2 separate regions of the Homo sapiens genome follow, and region 1 is linked to region 2. The links are contacts of gene promoters, found by promoter capture Hi-C in human tissues and cell types (Jung and others, 2019). All regions are on one chromosome and are shown on one strand. The core of a region is centred on a gene start or on the middle of the fragment in contact, and the rest is flanking DNA. Distances in the headings are between cores, read along the strand shown.

What was found. The method cuts DNA at HindIII sites, captures the fragments that hold promoters and counts their contacts. A contact is called where the count stands out against the background at its distance.
Region 1: a contact is called between the fragment with the promoter of QSOX2 here and the fragment with the promoter of MRPS2 in region 2, in 1 of the 25 tissues and cell types used here (mesenchymal stem cells).

What each region holds. Positions count from the first base shown.
Region 1 is chr9:136,244,524-136,247,467 of GRCh38, forward strand. It overlaps QSOX2 (quiescin sulfhydryl oxidase 2), which reads right to left and starts at 1,289. Exons shown (of 12, transcript NM_181701.4): 1 at 953-1,289. The coding sequence starts at 1,280. RefSeq lists silencers at 817-1,226, 1,257-1,526. The HindIII fragment of the contact is 9,280 bases long and covers 1-2,944 here.
Region 2 is chr9:135,499,319-135,502,531 of GRCh38, forward strand. It overlaps MRPS2 (mitochondrial ribosomal protein S2), which reads left to right and starts at 1,364. Exons shown (of 4, transcript NM_016034.5): 1 at 1,364-1,435; 2 at 1,680-1,805; 3 at 2,526-2,655. The coding sequence starts at 1,393. PIERCE1 (piercer of microtubule wall 1) reads right to left here and starts at 551. Exons shown (of 3, transcript NM_001048265.2): 1 at 391-551. The coding sequence starts at 533. RefSeq lists silencers at 654-823, 1,094-1,263, 1,474-1,633 and an enhancer at 1,589-2,213. The HindIII fragment of the contact is 18,925 bases long and covers 1-3,213 here.

The DNA of each region.
Region 1 (2,944 bases), core at 39-2,538, 750 kb after region 2:
TTACAGATCTTGCCCACTGAAACATGTAATTTGAGGTTAGCACAACACAGGAAGTCCTGCCAAACCTCACTGGGTCGGGAGGACCTCCTACTTCAGTGATTTAAATACCATTTTAAGGGAAGGGTGTTGTGAATGCCCCCTCCCACGCCAACTCTAACCTGTAGAGCAGGCGAGTAACTTCGTGACTGGTTAACAACGTGCGACCAGATGAAAGCACTAAACAATAAAGTGCGGAACACTACCAGCAGTTTGGTGAAAGATTTCTCAAAGGCTGTGCATCTGTGATCAAGGAGCCCACCAATGAAATTCTTTGTAGAGTTAAAAAAATTGCTTTATAGGTTGTTTTGGGGTATTATAGAGAAGTCTCCAGAGTATTTGGACTTCTAAGTTGTGGGTTCACTTTGAGCACCCACTATATGGCCAGCGATCCGAACCAGAAAGTTAATGATGAAGGTTCAAAGGGAATGGGGTGGCTACGAGTGTGGAATAGGAATGAGGGATCCTCAGAGAACAGGAATTCTGGGCACTGGGGATGGGGTGTGTGGACGCTAGGAAACAGGTAGGGTAGGAGGCCTGGAAGGTCAATGAAGTTCTTGGGGCTCAAAACATAGGTATTTTGAGAGCTGGGATACGGGAGGGCTTCCCTATCCCCAAGCGTGCGGTGAGGGCTGCGGGAGAATGGTTTCATTTTGACTTCAGACAGCCCAACTCGTCAGGATCTAACGGGGATTAACTGGGAGAGACATGGGGAGCAGCTGGCTTAGTCTCCCGCCCCTGGAAAGGCCAGGGTTGGTCCGAGTCGGGTGCCTCTGTGGGGCAGGGACTGGCTCTGCGGTAAGGAAAGAAATACGGGGGAGGGGCCCCGGGACCCGCCTTCTGGGGCGGTCGCAAGGGGTCCCGGAAGGCCGCGGTCCCGGGGGTCGGGGGGTCCCCGCGCGGGGGCGCGCCTCACCTCGCACATCCCCAGCCAGGGCCCGCCAAGTGGGCGCGTAGCCGATGCAGTGGCCACACCACGACGAGTAGAACTGCACGAGCCACGCGGCCGAGCTGTTGGCGGTGGCCCCGCGCACGCTGCCGCTGTCCAGCACCCACACGGCGTCCTCGCCCGCGCGGTACAGCCGCGCCGCACCGCCCGCGCCCGGCCCCACCGCCGCCGCCGCTAGCAGCACTAGCAGCCGCGGCAGCCGTGCGGCCCGCGGCGGGGGCGAGCGCCGGGCTCTCAGCGCAGGTCCCGCTCCGATTCCCGGGCTGCGCGCCACCGCCGCCCCGGCCGCCGCCATGTTGGAAGTGCCGCCGGCGCGCTGAACTTTCACCCTGGCAACCACCGTCACGTGCGCCGGCGCGCCCGGCCCCGCCCCCGCGCGCCCAGTTCTGTTCCGCCCCGCCCCCTCACGTCTGACCCCGCCCTCTCTCCCCGCCCCCGCCCCCGCCCATGCGTGGCAGCCCCGCCCCCAAGAGTCTGATGACGCCATCTCCCCGCCCAGGCGCGGCAGGCTCCGCCCAGGCCCCGCCCCACCCCGCCGCGCGTTCCCCAAACCCCTTCCCTGAACAGGGCCAGGTGGCCACATTTAGCAAATGGAAGTGCACGACGCCAGGTTCAACGTGAATTTCAGACAAACAGTGAGTCGGTTTTTCAGCCTAGGTCTGTGCCATGCCTGAAATACAAATTTAACAAGACATTCTTAGACGTAAAAAACTATTCCGGGGTTCTTTTACTTGGCAACCCCACCTGGGGCTTCAGAGGGTCTGCAAGCCAGCCTCGACTTTTTAATATGATATTGGAACGCTTAGAAAATGCAGCAAAACATCCACTCAAAGTCAGATGTGTTGTGTGCTACCTTTTAGGATGTTCCAGTCGAATGCAGCTTCACGGTTTGGAAATGAAATCATATGACTTTTTTGCTTCATTGAACAGGATACCTGATTTTTTTTTTTGTTCCTATTCCTAATTTTTACACATGTCAAGATTTTCTCTGAACTGTGTGACCAAAACAAAACAAGGGAGTGGGCGAGCCTGGGCAACATAGCGAGAGCCCATCTCTTAAAAAAAAGAAAAAAGCCGGGCATGGTGGTGCACACCTGTAGTCCCAGCTACTTGAGGGGCTAAGGTGGAGGATGGCTTGAGCCTGGGAGCTTGAGGCTGCAGTGAGCCGTGACTCTGCCACTGCACTCCAGCCTGGATGACAGAGCGAGACCTTGTCTCAAAATAAATAGATAACTGTATTGTGGGGTTCTGTGTAAGATTTTGTTTAAAAGGTTTTGCTGCTAACAATGGTTAACCCCAGATGAGAGGATTCTCCCCAGAGGGCCCCTGGCCAAGGCGTCTGCTCCCTTTTCCTCACGTCCTGCGTCTCCCTGTTCATGTTTCCTTCCATCACCCACGTTTCCTGGCTTCTGCTCTGTGCCAAGCCCTGGAGACAAATCAAGAACAAAACCGAGCCCCCAGTGTCCCTGGCCTGCATTTGGGCAGACCCCAAACAAACCAACGCGTAAAGCAGCCACCGCGTGCTATGAAAAGCAATGAAGCCGGACACGGAAGCAGGTGCCAGCAGGGCTGCCGTACAGAGGAGGGTGGGGAGGTCTTTGAGAAGGTGACCCGAATGGAGAAGGAGGTGAGGGAGGAGGCACACATGCAAAGGCCCTGGGGCAGAAGGGTGCTGAGCACGCTGGAGGAACAGCAAGGAGCCGGACCTGGTGGGAGCGGAGCAAGCTGGGGGAAGCGTGGGAGGGAAGAAAAGCTGAGAGCCCGAGCGAGACCCAGGGGGCCTCACAACCTGGGCCGCAGACTCAGACTTTGATGCTGAATGGGGGGGTGGCCACGGAAGGATCGGTGCAAGGATGCAGCTCTGCCCTTCTAGTTGCAGAGTAGGAGGGGCAGGAGGGGAAGCAGGGGACCTGGGAGGGGCCGCCGCCTCCTTCCACAAGCTGGAGGGACTCCGGGGAG
Region 2 (3,213 bases), core at 114-2,613:
ACTTCTTAGCCTGCAATGCCCTGTGGCAGCTCAGAGCTGGCTGAGTCTACAGCAAGACAGTGGAGGTGCTGCTGTGCTCACGCCCCGCAGCGGAGTTTCAGGGTAGAGAGGAGAGGAGACTCACCCGACACAAATCAGTGGAGCTGAGACCACAACTGGGCTTTCTCCCCCCACGGCCCTGCCCCCCACTGCCCTTATCCCCACTTCCTTGTATGAGGCTCTAGGGAGCACGGTCGCCGCTCACTGGCGGGCGATGACAGCGCGGGCCCCGGATGACCACTCGATCTTCTTGATTTCTGTAGCTAGGACCTTGGGGGTCTTGCGGGGTCTCTCACACACGGGGCTATCGAGCAGTGGACGCCAGGACCAGGCGGGCCCCAGCTTCCTCACCTGTAGCCCCGGAACCACCCCGGGTTGTTGAACCTGCCCGGCAGGTCCGCGCTCACGCGGTAGTAGTCGCTGGTCCTCTCCGGCGGGGCCGTGGCCTTGGGCGCCACAGGCTCCGCGCACGCTCTGGGGCATTCCTCAGCCATTGTGCCTGGAGGAGAAGCGGGACTCGGCGGCGTCCTGTTGCCAAGCGACGGCCAGGTCACGTGACTGGGGAGCGAGCGGAGGGGCCTTAAAGGCGCCGCGCGTGGGCCGGGTTCCTCTGCGGGTGGGTCCGGAACCTGCCGGGCGACTCCCCAAGGGCCGGGAAGGTCGGGACGGCGAGAGATTCCCTGCTGGGACCGTCGTGTGAGGCAGCCCCAGGCCCCCAGCCACCCGCGGGGGGACCGGGCCACCCCAGCATCAGGGCGTGGACTCCCGGGCGAAAGAAACCCCAGGGCCTGGGACCCCGCCAGCCGGGTGACGGGGTTTAAGCACTGCAGGTCCACTCGGCAGGCAACGATTGGACTTTTGCTGTCCAATGTACTCCAGGGATGCTATGCCCCCCAGCACCCCGAGTCTAAATTGAGACCCGAGATCTGGCTAACTTTATGAAATTCTCCTAAGCCAAATATCGTTTAAATATTACAAACAGTTTTGGAGAGCGAGAGGTTGCGCAGGACGTGGTTCACAGCTCACTTGGCGGGAGGCGAGGGTCCCCATCGCCCAGCGGGCTTCCCCAAGGGTCAGGGGCCTCCCGGGCTGGCCGGTCCCATTAGCAGGGCGGGGCGAGCTGCAGGGCGAGGACCGTGGCTCCACTCCCCGCCCGAGACTCTCAAGCCCAGGACCCCGGGCCCTGACCCCTCGCGTGCCCCGCCCCCGCAGGGAGGTCCCAGCCGCCTGGGGACAGCGCTGTGGCTCCTCCGGGCCTGTAGGCGGCACTGCGGCCCCGCGCGGATGGCGACGGAAGGGGAGGCCGCTCGGCCTGGCCTGGAGGGAGACCTCGCTCTGCCCCGCGTCCCAGCCATGGCGACATCCTCGGCCGCGCTGCCCCGAATACTCGGCGCGGGTGAGCGCGCGCTTGCGGGACCCTGGGGAGGAGCATGCGAGGAGGATGCGGAGGGGCGCGGGGACCCGATGGAGCGGCGGGGACGTGGAGGGGACCCGGGGCGAGCGCGGAGGGGACTCGGGGAGGGCGCGGGGACGCGGAGGGGACCCGTTAGGGACGCGGAGGGGCCCGTTGGGGATGCGGTGGGGAGCGGGCGTGGTGCATTCGGGACTCGGCGCCAGGACCTCTATCTACTTCCCCCCAGGTGCCCGGGCCCCGTCGCGCTGGTTGGGCTTTCTCGGGAAGGCGACCCCCCGGCCTGCTCGGCCGAGCCGCAGGACGCTTGGAAGCGCGACGGCCCTTATGATCCGCGAGTCGGAGGACAGCACCGGTAACACTGGGCGCCCAGCCGAGTTGGGTGGGAACGAGGAGAGGCCGGCAGCCGCGGGGGATGCGAACCCTAGAGGGGCCTGGGCGCTGCACGCGGTCGAAACTGCGCGCTCCGCTGGGCTCCTCCCACTCCCGTGCTCGCCGCCGCTCGGTCCTGCCTGACGTAGCACAGCGGGCTGAGGCCACCGCCTCACCATGGATAGGGTGAGAGGGAGCGGGCGGGCCAGTGGTTAGCACAGGCTTCGCTCCCTAGGGGGGTGTCACTGGACCACCGAGGCCCGGAGCCCCGAGCTCGCCCAGGCGGGCCCAAGTGACCTGGGGGCACTGGGCTTGGAGTCTGCCCACCTTGCTGGACTCCTGATGGGGACTTTCTGGCTGGCCACCTGAGACCACAAGGCGGGGAGGTGCCAGAAAGACCTGAGCAACCCGCTGGGCCCCTCTCTTTTTCTCCTCTGTCTTCCAAGTAAGACCAAGGGACGGGGTTGACCAGGTTCGACCAGGCTTACCCAGGAGCAAGGTCGGGATCAGAACCTGGCTCCAGCCCTCTGTTTCCTGAAAAGGTCCCTGTGCTTCCAGGTCTTTCCTGGGGCTGCTGGGCTCCCGGCTCCCCACCTCGGTGTCACAGAAGGCACTTGGGAGCAGGGGTGGGCGGGAACTGCGCTCTGCCTGTCTCTGCTGCCACCGGTGGGAGACGCAGCGTCGCTCCTCCTCCCTGCCGTAGATTTCAACGACAAGATTTTGAATGAGCCCCTCAAGCACTCTGACTTCTTCAATGTCAAGGAACTGTTTTCCGTGAGAAGCCTCTTCGATGCCCGAGTCCATCTGGGACACAAAGCTGGCTGTCGGCACAGGTAGGTGACACCCCCATCTGAGCCCGGGGCGGTTCCCAGGAGGAACCTGGGACCTGCTCTGGTTCTAGGGCCACTTTTGAACTGGCCTATGTCAGTTTTAGGTGATTACAGCCCCATCCTCCTCCACATGGGAATACAGAGCCCCACAGAGAAGCAGGAGTTTATTCCTCAGCTTGGCGGACGCTCTTGTGTGCCTTGGTGTGGCGCTCACAGCCCTTGATAGGGCAGGCCTGCTGGGGGTTGCAGGACTCCACGGGTTCAGAAATGGAAAGGCTGAGGGCAGAACCTGTAAGGTTGGTCCCCCCGGATCGGGCTGGGCCTTCTGGGCTGCGGGGAGGAGGAATGACTGGTCCTGTATTCTCACATGGTCATTTTGACTGCTGTGGGGGGAGGGGATGGGAGGGGCAGGTGGGAGGCCAGGGAGGAGGTTGGTGTGGGCGTTCAGGGTGAAGGTGGCGGGGCTTAAATCGCAGTAGCGGAAGAGCTGGAGCAGCAGGTGGACATGAGGCAGCAGGGCAGAGCCAGTGGGCCTTGGGCTGGGGTGGGAGGTGGCTGGGG